Linked DNA regions of Homo sapiens: region 1 is linked to region 2. The links are contacts of gene promoters, found by promoter capture Hi-C in human tissues and cell types (Jung and others, 2019). All regions are on one chromosome and are shown on one strand. The core of a region is centred on a gene start or on the middle of the fragment in contact, and the rest is flanking DNA. Distances in the headings are between cores, read along the strand shown.

Region 1 (7,041 bases), core at 1,646-4,145, 1.0 Mb before region 2:
ACATTTGGGCCACATTTTAGCCCTGGTCAAGTTCATTTTCTCAATAAAATGAATGCTGTGGAGTTTACAGCAGGATGAGAAAGGTTGCATTTTAAATAGCCTCAATTTCCCCCAGTGGAATGATCTATGTAATCTTATCAGATATGTTTATTCATGGGGAAGTCTCTTTATGCAGGTTTCATAGCAGGGCAGAGAAACATTGATTTTGTCTAAAACTCTGCTGAATGCCAGGCTGATGGGACTGATTGTGGACCACGCTGGACCTCTGTCCCTGTAGTGGTATTTAGTAAGCCCTCATGCAGAATGGATGGGGAAGCTGTGGTGGAAACAGTGGCAGCCATGTAGTGTTGGGGGCTGAATGCCCCCTGGAGCTTTCTAAAGGACACTGACCCTTAAATCACAGAGTTTTAAAACAAACAAACCAACAAACAAAGAAATGAACAGCCTCTGAACTGATTTTTTTTTCAGATCCTGAAAATGCCAGAGTAAAGTGTGAATTCTTAAGAAATGAAATCCCTTGGATATGTTTGAAATCTTTTTGTGTTTTCTAACACTTTAAAATTTGGCTTCATTTAACGTAGCCATAGGGAGATAGCTGGTATAGATCTGTGGGCCTGTTTTGCTCAAGCATTGAATATAGAAAGGTGTTTAACTACAACTTGGATGCTAATAAGTGCAAATCTCAGTAACTCTGCCATGTTCCCCAGTGAAACTCTGATCTAAAAGAATTATACAAGGTTGTACTTTCTCTCTAAGCATGAAGGATTTCCCATGGAAAAAGAGTTCAGAAAGTGCAGGTTTGTGTTGTAAAGGCTGTTTTCTACCCATTTTAATATATGCTTTGAACAGGCAAGGGTATTAGAAGAAGACGAAAATGTAAGATCCAAGTTATGTACTGAAAGATCCTGGGGAATGACTTGTAAAGTATAATAGGATATAAGATAATAAGAGATTGCATCAGCACCAAGAGAATGCTGTTCTCGATTAAGAGCTCAAATCAAATGGCCAGGACAACTGAAATGACTCAGTGAAAATAGAATCCCCAGAAGAATCTTTCAAAATAAGACAAGACAGAAGCCCAAAAGCATATCCAGAAATTGCTAAAGTCACCCAGTAAAGAAAGGTCACAAAGAATAAAAGGACATGGAATGTCAAAAAAAGGGGGAGAATAGAAAGTGGTATCTCATTAAAACATGGTGTGAAAAACTGTACTATTGTATTTTTCTTACTTATCCAAATAAAATAACCTCATGGACAGGCCAAGATTTATGCTCAAGTGTTCATCACATTGTTATTTATCATAACTCAAACGTGGAAACAATCTTTTTTTAAAATTGTACTTTAAGTTCTGGGATACATGTGCAGAACGTGCGGGTTTGTTACATGGGTATACACGTGCCATGGTGGTTTGCTGCACCCATCAACCCGTCATCTATATTAGGTATTTCTCCTAATGCTATCACTCCACTTTCCCCCCACTTCCCAACAGGCCCCGGTGTGTGATGTTCCCCTCCCTGTGCCCATATGTTCTCATTGTTCAACTCCCAGTTATGAGTGAGAACATGTGGTGTTTGGTTTTCTGTTCCTGTGTTAGTTTGCTGAGAATGATGGTTTCCAGCTTCATCCATGTCCCTGCAAAGGACATGGACTCATTGTTTTTTATGGCTGCACAGTTTTCCATGGTGTATATGTGCCACATTTTCTTAATCCAGTCTAACATTCATGGGCATTTGGGTTGGTTCCAAGTCTTTTCTATTGTGAATAGTGCTGCAATAAACATACGTATGCATGTGTCTTTACAACAGAATGATTTATAATCCTTTGGGTGTATACCCAGTAATGGGATTGCTGGGTCAAATGGTATTTCTAGCTCCAGATCGTTGAGGAATCGCCACACTGTCTTCCACAATGGTTGAACTAATTTACACTCCCACCAACAGTGTAAAAGTGTTCCTATTTCTCCACATCCTCTCCAGCATCTGTTGTTTCCTGACTTTTTAATGATCGCCATTCTAACTGGCGTGAGATGGTATCTCATTGTGGTTTTGATTTGCATTTCTCTAATGACCAGTGATGATGAGCTTTTTTTCATATGTTTGTTGGCTGTGTAAATGTGTTCTTTTGAGAAGTGTCTGTTCATATCCTTTGCCCACTTTTTGATAGGGTTGTTTGGTTTTTTTCGTGTAAATTTGTTTAAGTTCTTTGTAGCTTCTGGATATTAGCCCTTTGTCAGATGGATAGATTGCAAAAATGTTCTCCCACTCTGTAGGTTGCCTGTTCACTCTGACGATAGTTTCTTTTGCTGTGCAGAAGCTCTTTAGTTTAATTAGATCCCATTTGTCAATTTTGGCTTTTGTTGCAGTTGCTTTTGGTGTTTTAGTCATGAAGCTTTGCCCATGCCTATGTCCTGAATGGTATTGCCTAGGTTTTCTTCTAGGGTTTTTATGGTTTTAGGTCTTATGTTTAAATCTTTAATCCATCTTGAACTAATTTTTGTATATGGTGTAAGGAAGAGGTTCAGTTTCAGTTTTCTGCATATGGCTAGCCAGTTTTCCCAACATCATTTATTAAATAGGGAATCCTTTCCCCATTTCTTGTTTTTGTCATGTTTGTCAAAGATCAGATGGTTGTAGATGTGTGGTGTTATTTCTGAGGGCTCTGTTCTGTTCCATTAGTCTATATATCTGTTTTGGTACCAGTACTAGGGTGTTTTGGTTACTGTATCCTTGTAGTATAGTTTGAAGTCAGGTAGTGTGATGCCTCCAGCTTTGTTCTTTTTGCTTAGGATTATCTTGGCTATGTGGGCTCTTTTTTTTGTTCCATATGAAATTTAAAGTAGTTTTTTCTAATTCTGTGAAGAAAGTCAATGGTAGCTTGATGGGAATAACATTGAATCTGTAAGTTACTTTGGGCAGTATGGCCATTTTCACTATATTGATGCTTCCTATCCATGAGCATGGAATGTTTTTCCATTTTTTTGTGTCCTCTCTTATTTCCTTGAGCAGTGGTTTGTAGTTCTGCCTGAAGAGGTCCTTCACCTGCCTTGTAAGTTGTATTCCTAGGTATTTTATTCTTTTTGTAGCAATTGTGATTGGGAGTTTGCTCATGATTTGGCTCTTTCTTTGTCTATTATTGGTGTATGGAATGCTTGTGATTTTTGCACATTGATTTGTAGCCAGAGACTTCACTGAAGTTGCTTGTCAGCTTAAGGAGTTTTTGGGCTGAGATGATGGGCTTTTCTTTTCTTTTCTTTTCTTTTTTTTTGAGACAGAATCTTGCACTGTCGCCTGGGCTGGAGTGTAATGGTGCGATCTCGGCTCACTGCAACTTCTGCTTCCTGGGTTCAAGCAATTCTCCTGCCTCAGCCTCCCAGGTAGCTGGGACTACTGGTGCCTGCCACCATGCCCAGCTAATTTTTTGTATCTTAGTAGAGATGAGGTTTTTTTTGTATCTTAGTAGAGATGAGGTTTCACTATGTAGGCCAGGCTGGTCTCGAATTCCTGACCTCGTGATCTGCCTGCCTCGGCCTCCCAAAGTGCTGGGATTACAGGTGAGAGCCACTGTGCCCAGCCTGATGATGGGGTTTTCTAAATATACAATCATGTCATCTACGAACAGAGATAATTTGGCTTCCTCTCTTCCTATTTGAATACGCTTTATTTCTTTCTCTTGCCTGGTTGCCCTGGCCAGAACTTCTAATACTATGTTGAATAGGAGTGGTGAGAGAGGGCATCCTTGTCTTGTGCTGGTTTTCAAAGGGAGTGCTTCCAGCTTTTGCCCATTCAGTATGATATTGGCTCTGGGTTTGTCATAAGTAGCTCTTATTATTTTGAGATATGTTCCATCAATGCCTAGTTTATTGAGTGTTTTTAGAATGAAGGGCTGTTGAATTTTGTCAATACCTAGTTTATTGAGTGTTTTTAGCATGAAAGGGTGTAGAATTTTATCAAAGGCCTTTTCTGCATCTATTGAGATAATCATGTGTTTTTTGTCATTGGTTCTGTTTATGTGATGGATTATGTTTATTGATTTGTGTATGTTGAACCAGCCTTGCATCCCAGGGATGAAGCCAACTTGATCATGGTGGATAAGCTTTTTGATGTGCTGCTGGATTCAGTTTGCCAGTATTTTATTGAGGGTTTTTGCATCGATGTTCTTCAGGGATATTGGCCTGAAATTTTCTCTTTTTCTTGTGTCTCTGCCAGGTTTTGGTATCAGGATGATGCTGGCCTCATAAAATGAGTTAGGGAGGAATCCCTCTTTCTCTATTGTTTGGAATAGTTTCAGAAGGAATGGTACCAGCTCCTCTTTGTACCTATAGTAGAATTCAGCTGTGAATCTGTCTGGTCCTGGACTTTTTTTGGTTGGTAGGCTATTAATTATACTGCCTCAATTTCAGAACTTGTTATTTGTCAGTTCACGGATTTAACTTCTTCCTGGTTTAGTCTTGGGAAGCTGTATGTGTCCAGGAATTTATCCATTTCTTCTAGATTTTCTAGTTTATTTGCATAGAGGAGTTTATAGTATTCTCTGACAGTAGTTTGTATTTATGTGGGATCAGTGGTAATCTCCCATTTATCATTTTTTATTGTGTCTATTTGATTCTTCTCTCTTTTCTTCTTTATTAGTCTGGCTAGCGGTCTATTTTGTTAATCTTTTCAAAAAACGAGCTCCTGGAATCACTGATTTTTTTGAAGGACTTTTTGTGTCTCTGTCTCCTTCAGTTCTGCTGTGATCTTAGTTATTTCTTGTCTTCTGCTAGCTTTTGAATTTGTTTGCTCTTGCTTCTCTAGTTCTTTTAATTATGATGTTAGGGTGTCGATTTTAGATCTTTCCCATTTTCTCCTGTGGGCATTTAGTGCTGTAAATTTCCCTCTAAACACTGCTTTAGCTGTGTCCCAGAGATTCTGGTACATTGTGCCTTTGTTCTCATTGGTTTCAAAGAACTTATTTATTTTTGCCTTAATTTCGTTATTTACCCAGTAGTCATTCAGGAGCAGGTTGTTCAGTTTCCATGTAGTTGTGCAGTTTTGAGTGAGTTTCTTAATCCTGAGTTCTAATTTGATTGCACTGTGGTCTGAGAGACTGTTATGATTTCCATTCTTTTGCATTTGCTGAGGAGTGTTTTACTTCCAATTATATGATTGATTTTAGAATAAGTGCTATGTGGTGCTGAGAATGTATATTCTGCTATTGATTTGGGGTGGAGAGTTCTGTAGATGTCTATTAGGTCCGCTTGATCCAGAGCTGAGTTCAAGTCCTGAATATCCTTGTTAATTTTCTGTCTCGTTGATCTGTCTAATATTGACAGTGGGTTGTTAAAGTCTCCCATTATTATTGTGTGGAAGTCTAAGTCTCTTTGTAGGTCTCTAAGAACTTGCTTTATGAATCTGGGTGCTCCCGTATTGGGTGCATATATATTTAGGATAGTTAGCTCTTCTTGTTGCATTGATCCCTTTACCATTATGTAATGTCCTTCTTTGTCTTTTTTAATCTTTGTTGGTTTAAAGTCTGTTTTCTCAGAGACTAGGAATGTAACCCCTGCTTTTTTTTTTTTACTTTCCATTTGCTTGGTAAATCTTCCTCCATCCCTTTATTTTGAGCCTATGTGTGTCTTTGCATATAAGATGGGTCTCCTGAATACAGCACACCGATAGGTCTTGATTCTATCCAATTTGCCAGTCTGTGTCTTTTAATTGGAGCATTTAGCCCATTTACATTTAAGGTTAATATTGTTATGTGTGAGTTTGATCCTGTCATTATGATGCTAGCTGGTTATTTTTTCCAGTAGTTGATGCAGTTTCTTCATAGTTGTCAGTGGTCTTTAACTTTTGGTTTGTTTTTGCAGTGGCAGGTACTGGTTTTTCCTTTCCACGTGCTTCCTTCAGGAGCTCTTGTAAGGCAGGTGGTGGTATCAGAATCCCTCAGCATTTGCTTGTCTGTAAAGGATTTTACTTCTCCTTCACTTATGAAGCTTAGTTTGGCTGGATATGAAGTTCTGGGCTGAAAATTCTTTTCTTTAAGAATGTTGAATATTGACCCCCACTCTCTTCTTGCTTGTAGGGTTTCTGCAGAGAGATCTGCTGTTAGTCTGATGGGCTTTCCTTTGTGAGTATCCTGACCTTTCTCTCTGGCTGCCTGTAACATTTTTTCTTTCATTTTAACCTTGGTGAATTTGTCAATTATGTGTCTTGGGGTTGCTCTTCTCGAGGAGTATCTTTGTGGCATTCTCTGTTATTTCCTGAATTTGAATGTTGGCCTGTCTTGCTAACTTGGGGAAGTTCTCCTGGATAATATCCGGAAGTGTGTTTTCCAACTTGGTTCCATTCTCCCCATCACTTTCAGATACAGCAATCAAATGTAGGTTTGGTCTTTTCACATAGTCCCATATTTCTTGGAGCCTTTGTTCATCCCTTTGTATTCTTTTTTCTGTAATCTTGTTTTCATGCTTTATTTCATTACCTTGATCTTTAATCTCTGATATCCTTTCTTCTGCTTGATAGATTTGGCTATTGATACTTGTGTATGCTTCGTGAAGTTCTCGTGCTGTTTTTCAGCTCCATCAGGTCATTTATGTTCTTCTCTAAACTGGTTATTCTAGTTAGCAATTCCTCTAACCTTTTATCAAGGTTTTCTTAGCTTCCTTGCATTGGGATAGAACATGCTTCTTTAGCTCAGAGGAGTTTGTTATTTCTCACCTTCTGAAGCCTACTTCTGTCAATTAGTCAAACTCATTCTCCATCCAGTTTTGTTCCCTTGCTGGCAAGGAATTGTGATCCTATAGAGGAGAAGAGGCATTCTGGTTTTTGGAATTTTCAGCCTTTTTGCACTGGTGTTTCCTCATCTTCTTGGACTTATCTACCTTTGGTCTTTGCTGTTGGTGACCTTTGGATGGAGTTTTTGTGTGGTTATCCTTTTTGTTGATGTTGATGCTGATGCTATTGCTTTCTGTTTGTTAGTTTTCCTTCTAACAGTCAGGCCCCTCTTCTGCAGGTCTGCTCGAGTTTGCTGGGGTTCCATTCCAGACCCTGTTTGCCTGGG
Region 2 (6,112 bases), core at 3,533-6,032:
CGCTTGAACCTGGGAGGTGGTGGTTGCAGTGAGGTGGCTGCAGTGAGGTGGTGGTTGCAGAGTGCCATTGTACTCCAGCCTGGGTGACAGAGTGAGACTCCATCTCAAGAGGAAAAAAAAAAAAGATTAGCGCTGCAGGAAGGGACCACATTTCCAAACCCCGACTTCTTTGCAGTGCTGAGCTCAGGTCAGGAGCTGGGTAAACACCTGTTGGTGCTGCATCTTTAAGTGCAGGTTCCCATGGGCCAGGGCATTCTGGGGCCGGTTGGCACTCCTGAGGAAGTTCCACGCTGGCCACTGAAGGCATGAAAAAATGAACGGAAAGATCACTAGAATGCAAGCTCCAAGAAGGCAGGGGGATATCTGCCTGGTTTGCTCACTGCTTTACCTCAAGCACCTAGTAGGTATGAAATAAATATCTGCAGAATGAATGCACAGCTGGACTTAGAGGCAGACTGGACGTGGAAACCAACAAAGATGAATGAGTCCAGGGCTTCTTCAAGATTTAAATCCAAATGATTAGAATGAAAATGATAGTACTGTCACAGTTGACTAAAAAAGTTAAATAAGAGTAGATTGGTTTTAGCAAAGATTCTTCTTCATTACTTCTGGCTTTTCTCTAAGACTTTATTTTGGCCTCTAGTCCACGAAAAGAATTCAGTGGTTTGGAGATTCTGCAATGCACCCTTCTGCCTTGGGAAGAAGAAAAGGATGGGCAAAATCTTTTAGTTTGATTTTTGGCAATGGAAGAAGGACAATCTAGTGAGAATCTAAACCCAGATGGCATTCCTCACAGGACAACTGGATCCCCACCAGCAGGTATGCCAACAGCACAGTGGCTTGACTGGACTTGCTATAAACCTTAATGACAGGGCTGGTGGGGCTCTGTGTGACTGGGTCAGCTTCAGGGGCCTTGCCAACCTAAGGAGACTCCAAGCCACCTCTAGCTGGCCAGTCAGGTCTCTGGGGGCTTTTGGAGACTTGAAAACTAGTTCCACCCAGGGAACAAACCAGTTCACCTTTTGAAATCCTTTCCAAACTAATGATTATCCAAGGCGCCATTTAAGTGATCATATTACACAGGGTAGGCTACCCCTCGAAGGGTGGTTACCATCAAAACTAGACATATCAGGTCCTAAAAGCAGAAGCTGAAGGGCATGCTCAAATTGCTTCTCAGACATCCATTTTCTGCAAGCCTGATCTTTCAAGATCTTTCCTTCTTAAATGACATCCTCCTTCTGCTAATACCCAACTAAGAGAGAAAGAGCCCTTGTTTTTATAAAATTCCCTAGCAAAAGCAATTTGTTTCACTCATAAAACAGCCAAACTATATTTTCTAAAGAACTGCAAAGTTACATGATTTCGATTTTAGTTACCCTTCTAATGCAAACTTTCCAGAGCCTGCCTTTCATAATACACCGAGAGATAATGCATGGGCCCAAATGACTTGACAGTTTCTTTTAATTTACAGACATCTAAGAATGTTTATAAAATTCCTCTAGTTCAAAACACTTCCTTTTCTTAAACATATTTCCAGTTCAAATTATGTGTTTATAGCAGTCTGCAATATATTATTTCTAAAGATAAACAGTCATGTACAAAATGGACAGAAAACCAGCAGCATATCACTACTGCCACACTCAGTCAGATTTTCCCCTTGCCTGGTGCTCCGCAGCCAAAGTCCTAACCTGCCAGTGGAAAGTATGAATGGATCACTAGGAACAGGCTTTCCCAGCTGCCTCCAGGATCCATAAAGGAACAGCTACCAGTTCCTTTTCATAGGCAGTTTTGAGCCTTAGTTCCTGAGAACCTCTTTTTTACCCCCAGAGCTAAGTATAAAACTTAAGAATTCACTAACTGTAGGCAGTTTTCCTTTCTTCCTTTAAAGGGAGACTTTAAACCCAAATCACTACTTCTAAATCCCAGGAAACAGTTGCAGTTTTCAAATTAAAATGCAAAGTCCTGGAAATAATATTCTGTAATTGCTAATTTTTTTTTAAATTCAGTCTTTTGACTTCATTTATATTTTTGCTGCTATACATGAAACAAACGGAGACTGAAAAGTAATTTAAATGGACTGTTAGCCATTCTGGGCCTTGAAACAGCTTCTATTTAGAAAGACTGACTCACTGCCTAACAAAGATTCTCTGCTAGTCTCTAAGTTGACATTTTATAAATATCTAATCACCCTTTTTGGATGATTTTCCAATTACTGAAAACAGTGTCTATCACAATGAAGCAGTTCACTCGGAAAGCATCCAGTTCTGGTTCAAATTGAGAAATATTAGAACCCCAAAGATACACAGTTCAGGGGAAAGCTGTCACCGGGGAGGACAGGTATATAGTTCGGCCAAAAAACTTCCTTAAGGAGCACTGGTAGATTTATGCAAAAACCCAGAGGAGCAGAAGACAGAAACATTCTTTCTCCAGAATCCCAAAACAGTAACATTTCCTAGCAAATCCATGAATAAGACTCAGCAAAAAAAAAGGGCCTCCTTAACCATGTGCAGTTTTTTAGGCAGGCTCTTGAAATTTATTAGATGAAGTCCCTTTGCCCTGTTTTGCAACAAGAGGAGCAACAACGCTCATCTGAAATAAACAAGAGAACTGCTGCCTTTTGGTGTACAAAGAGCCAAAGTTCATCCTAACTGGCTGGGAGATAACTAATACCAACGGATTAAACCATCATTTGCCAAAGGGAAACACTGATAAGGCTGGGAGTTCTATTTTACAACCTGAGCACCCAAAATACTCATGTAGTCTGTACAGTTTCCAATTCTACATGCTCTCCAACCACAAAGAACGTATGGGGATCTGCTAGCACACACAGAGGCTCCCACACTGATTAAAAATGTCCATCTGCCGCTCGATGCCAAAGAGGTTTCCCAGTCCTAAATTAGCCTCAGCACAAAAAAGGGGGGGAGGGAGACTCAAACTCATAAAACTACCTAAAAGACCTTAAGATGATATAATTTGTCTTTGAAAAGACCATTCAATTAATTAGAAATTGACACGTTATTAAATGGCAAAGGGAGAGGACGTGGGGAACCAGAAGGGCCAGAAACAGCCGCACTCCCTGAGACCCCAGAGGGCACTGAGGCTGCAGACGAAATCTGGGGTGCTCAAGCTTCCACCTGGCCCGACAGAGCTCCTGGCGCCCAGGTGGAGGCAGCTGCGGACGAGAGGAGGCCAAGGAGGCAGTTCCCTTTAGAGGGCGCTCATTGGGCGACGTGGGGAAACAAGCTCCAGCCCCCGAAGCGCGACCAAAAGGAGAAATCAAGTTCCCACCGCCAGGGCGGGGGAGGGAAGCTGGGTGCCGGCAGGCGCTCCGCCGGAGACGAGACTCCTCCCGGCCCCAGAAGCGCCCCGCCAGGGCCAGAGAGGGCGAGCGTGGCGGGAGGGAAGCCTCTGTCCCCCAGCGGCCAGGCGACCCGAAGCCGAGCGCCGTGTCACACGTACCCCGCCTCGCCCTGCTTGCGGCACTCCCGTGTAACTCCTATGAAAATGTCCTCCCGTCCCTGACGCCCCGCGGTGCAACCTCCACCCCTCAACGAGGAGGGGGTCGCCGCAGGACTGGGAATCCAGTGGCCGGCGTCCCAGCATTTTCGGACGCGTTCCGTGCCTCCCCCAGTATCCCCTTGAGGGATCGCCTACTGCGATTCCACGTAGTGTCGGTTACCTCGCCCTAGCCGCAGGGAGCATCAAACAAAAGAACTTTTGCAAACTTTTCTCTCTGGACACTCGCGGGTCTCTTAAATCTGGCCCCCATCTCCCCAGAACTTGCATGCAGTCAAACAGGAAAGCTGGCGCGGGGGGGATGGTGTGCGGAGGAAGGGACCCCGAAGTTTCCAGGTCATCCCTGGTCTCGAGGAGCGCGCGGAGTGGAGCCGTTCCCTCGCGGGCCCGACCCAGGCTCCCCCCTCCTGCCACCCTTTCCCCTCCGTCCTTCCCAGACCACGCAGCAAGACCCGCCGAGGGCGAAGAAGTTGGGAGTGACTTCAGGGGCCTCTGCGGCTAGACCAAACCGCAATTCTCGGTGCCCCCATTCCCGCGGACCGCGGGGTAACGCCAGCGAGCAGCGCTTTTCTGAGGAAGGGAAGAGGGGGAAAGGGTGACCGGACGAGCGCATTTGTCCCAGCGGATCTCCGGTGTATACTTGGGGACTGGGGGTTCCCCAGGTGGCGCTCCCCTATTCCCTGCGGGCTCCTCTCGTAGCTTCAAACACCCTAAACGGCGCGCGCATCCTCCGCCTGGCCCACTCACCGACTCCGCCGACACGCAGGCCACCAAGCCCAAGGTGAGCAGGATCCACGCGCGCCGCATATTCCCCAGGGACCGGCTGCTCCCAGCCGCTGCTTGCAACCAGGGCAAAACGAAGCCTCCTGCCCAGCGCTCGGCGCAGCCCGCGCACACGAATCCGGAGCAGAGTACCGCAGCGATTGCGGCTCAGGCTCGGGGACTCGGGCTCGGGGCTCGGGGGCGCTCGCTTCCTCCTCCTGCGCCTGCTCCCGCCGCCCGCAGCTGCGCCCCGGGAACGCGGCGCCCTCTCACTTGTTGGTTTCTGCACTCCCGACACGGAGTTGGTGCTCCGGGAAGGCTGCTCTCTGAAGCTCTTCTTGCTCTGCTGTGGTTTTGCTCCTCCGCGGACTCCTTTCCCGTGCCGAGGTTCAGTTTCTGGTTTTAAGGAATAAATTCGCTGGCTTGAAAGGGAGCTACGGCAGAAGTTTAGGGGCAGAGCGGCGGGAGCGCGCGATCCGCGCGGCTGGAGCTCCGGGGGTATCTGGAGAGCAGCGCGTCCAAGCGGGGCCACTGGCTCCGCGGCTGCGCCCCTCCTCCTCCCGCGCCGCGCCTCCCTCCCCGGGTCCTCCTCCTTCTCCTCCTCTTCTTTTCCTCTGGCTCCCTCCCTCCTGAGCCTGCTTCTCCGGGCTCCCCTGGGCGACTGGGGAGAGGAGGCGGCAGTGTGACTCCCAGATAAACCCGGGAGAAATTCCTACAGGATTACACGCCGATTGGCAGCTCCGAGGACCAGTGGGCGCCGCGGCTCCGCGCTGTGGCTGCGCCGGCTCTGCTCACCGGCAAGCCAGGGCTCCTGCGTTTTCTCAGTCCTTTTCTTCCTTTCTCTCCCCACTTTTCCTCTCTCCTCTATGCTCTTTTCTTCCCCGTTGTCTTTTCTCTTTCCCTTCTTCACTTTCCCTTTTCTAGAGAACAATTAGTGAAGAAACGAGAGACGTATGTAGCTTTTCTGCCTTGAGAATTCGACCAGTAGAAAGAAACTGCTTTGTGAGTTGAGGGAAAAAAAAAGTGTAAGATGCTTTCAAGCAATGTGAAGTGTTCATAAATCGCCAGTTCATGAAAATTGCATTTTAAAAGAGAAGATAATTAATGTAATAAATATATAGTGAGAGTGTTTCCCATTCTCCCAAATCCTTCCGCACCCCCAAAAAAGGGACATGGAGGAAGGATCCTGTAAACCCAAAGTGCAACAGTTTGAAAGCTCCTAACTTCATTAAGGGCTTAAATACCATTTCTCCCTCACACACAGTTTATGCCACTAAGGCTTTTTATAGGCTCCATTTTAGCAGATAGGTGTTAACGTTTGGAAGCTACAAATAGGGTAATTTGATGAGAAGTTGGATAGAGACCCTGAATAATAACAGATTTAAGATAACTTCAAAGAAAAGAGGGATAAAGTAATTCTTAGTTTGAAGAAAATAATGAACATGTATTTCCTAAATGGAAGTAGCTGACATGAAATATTTTGTTACAATGTCTGTGGCATATTATAGAACATGGCAAATGCGTATTCCCTTCCAGTTTCTTTTTCTTACTGTCACAAATTTTACACACAAATCCCTTGCAGTTCGTGCCATCATTTTTCTCTCTGACTTATAGAGTAAATGAATTATGACGCCATTCTGCTCCTGGAATGCCCACTACAGGAAACCAGAGACTTTTCTGTCTGTTCACCATTGTATTCTCATTCCTGGTACATAAAGACACATGATAAATATTATCTTGAATAAATTTTGCTCTAAAGCTCAATTTATACCGTATAAGAGTTGTGAGCCTTTAAAATACACCAATGTAGATATATAGATATGAGGCCATGGTA

The links. The method cuts DNA at HindIII sites, captures the fragments that hold promoters and counts their contacts. A contact is called where the count stands out against the background at its distance.
Region 1: a contact is called between a fragment that was not itself captured here and the fragment with the promoter of SDC2 in region 2, in 1 of the 25 tissues and cell types used here (dorsolateral prefrontal cortex).

The regions. Positions count from the first base shown.
Region 1 is chr8:97,531,016-97,538,056 of GRCh38, reverse strand. No RefSeq gene overlaps it. Among named protein-coding and RNA genes, the nearest start is that of MTDH, 110 kb to the left of the region's middle. The HindIII fragment of the contact is 4,277 bases long and covers 757-5,033 here.
Region 2 is chr8:96,492,483-96,498,594 of GRCh38, reverse strand. It overlaps SDC2 (syndecan 2), which reads right to left and starts at 4,782. Exons shown (of 5, transcript NM_002998.4): 1 at 4,264-4,782. The coding sequence starts at 4,323. The HindIII fragment of the contact is 18,592 bases long and covers 1-6,112 here.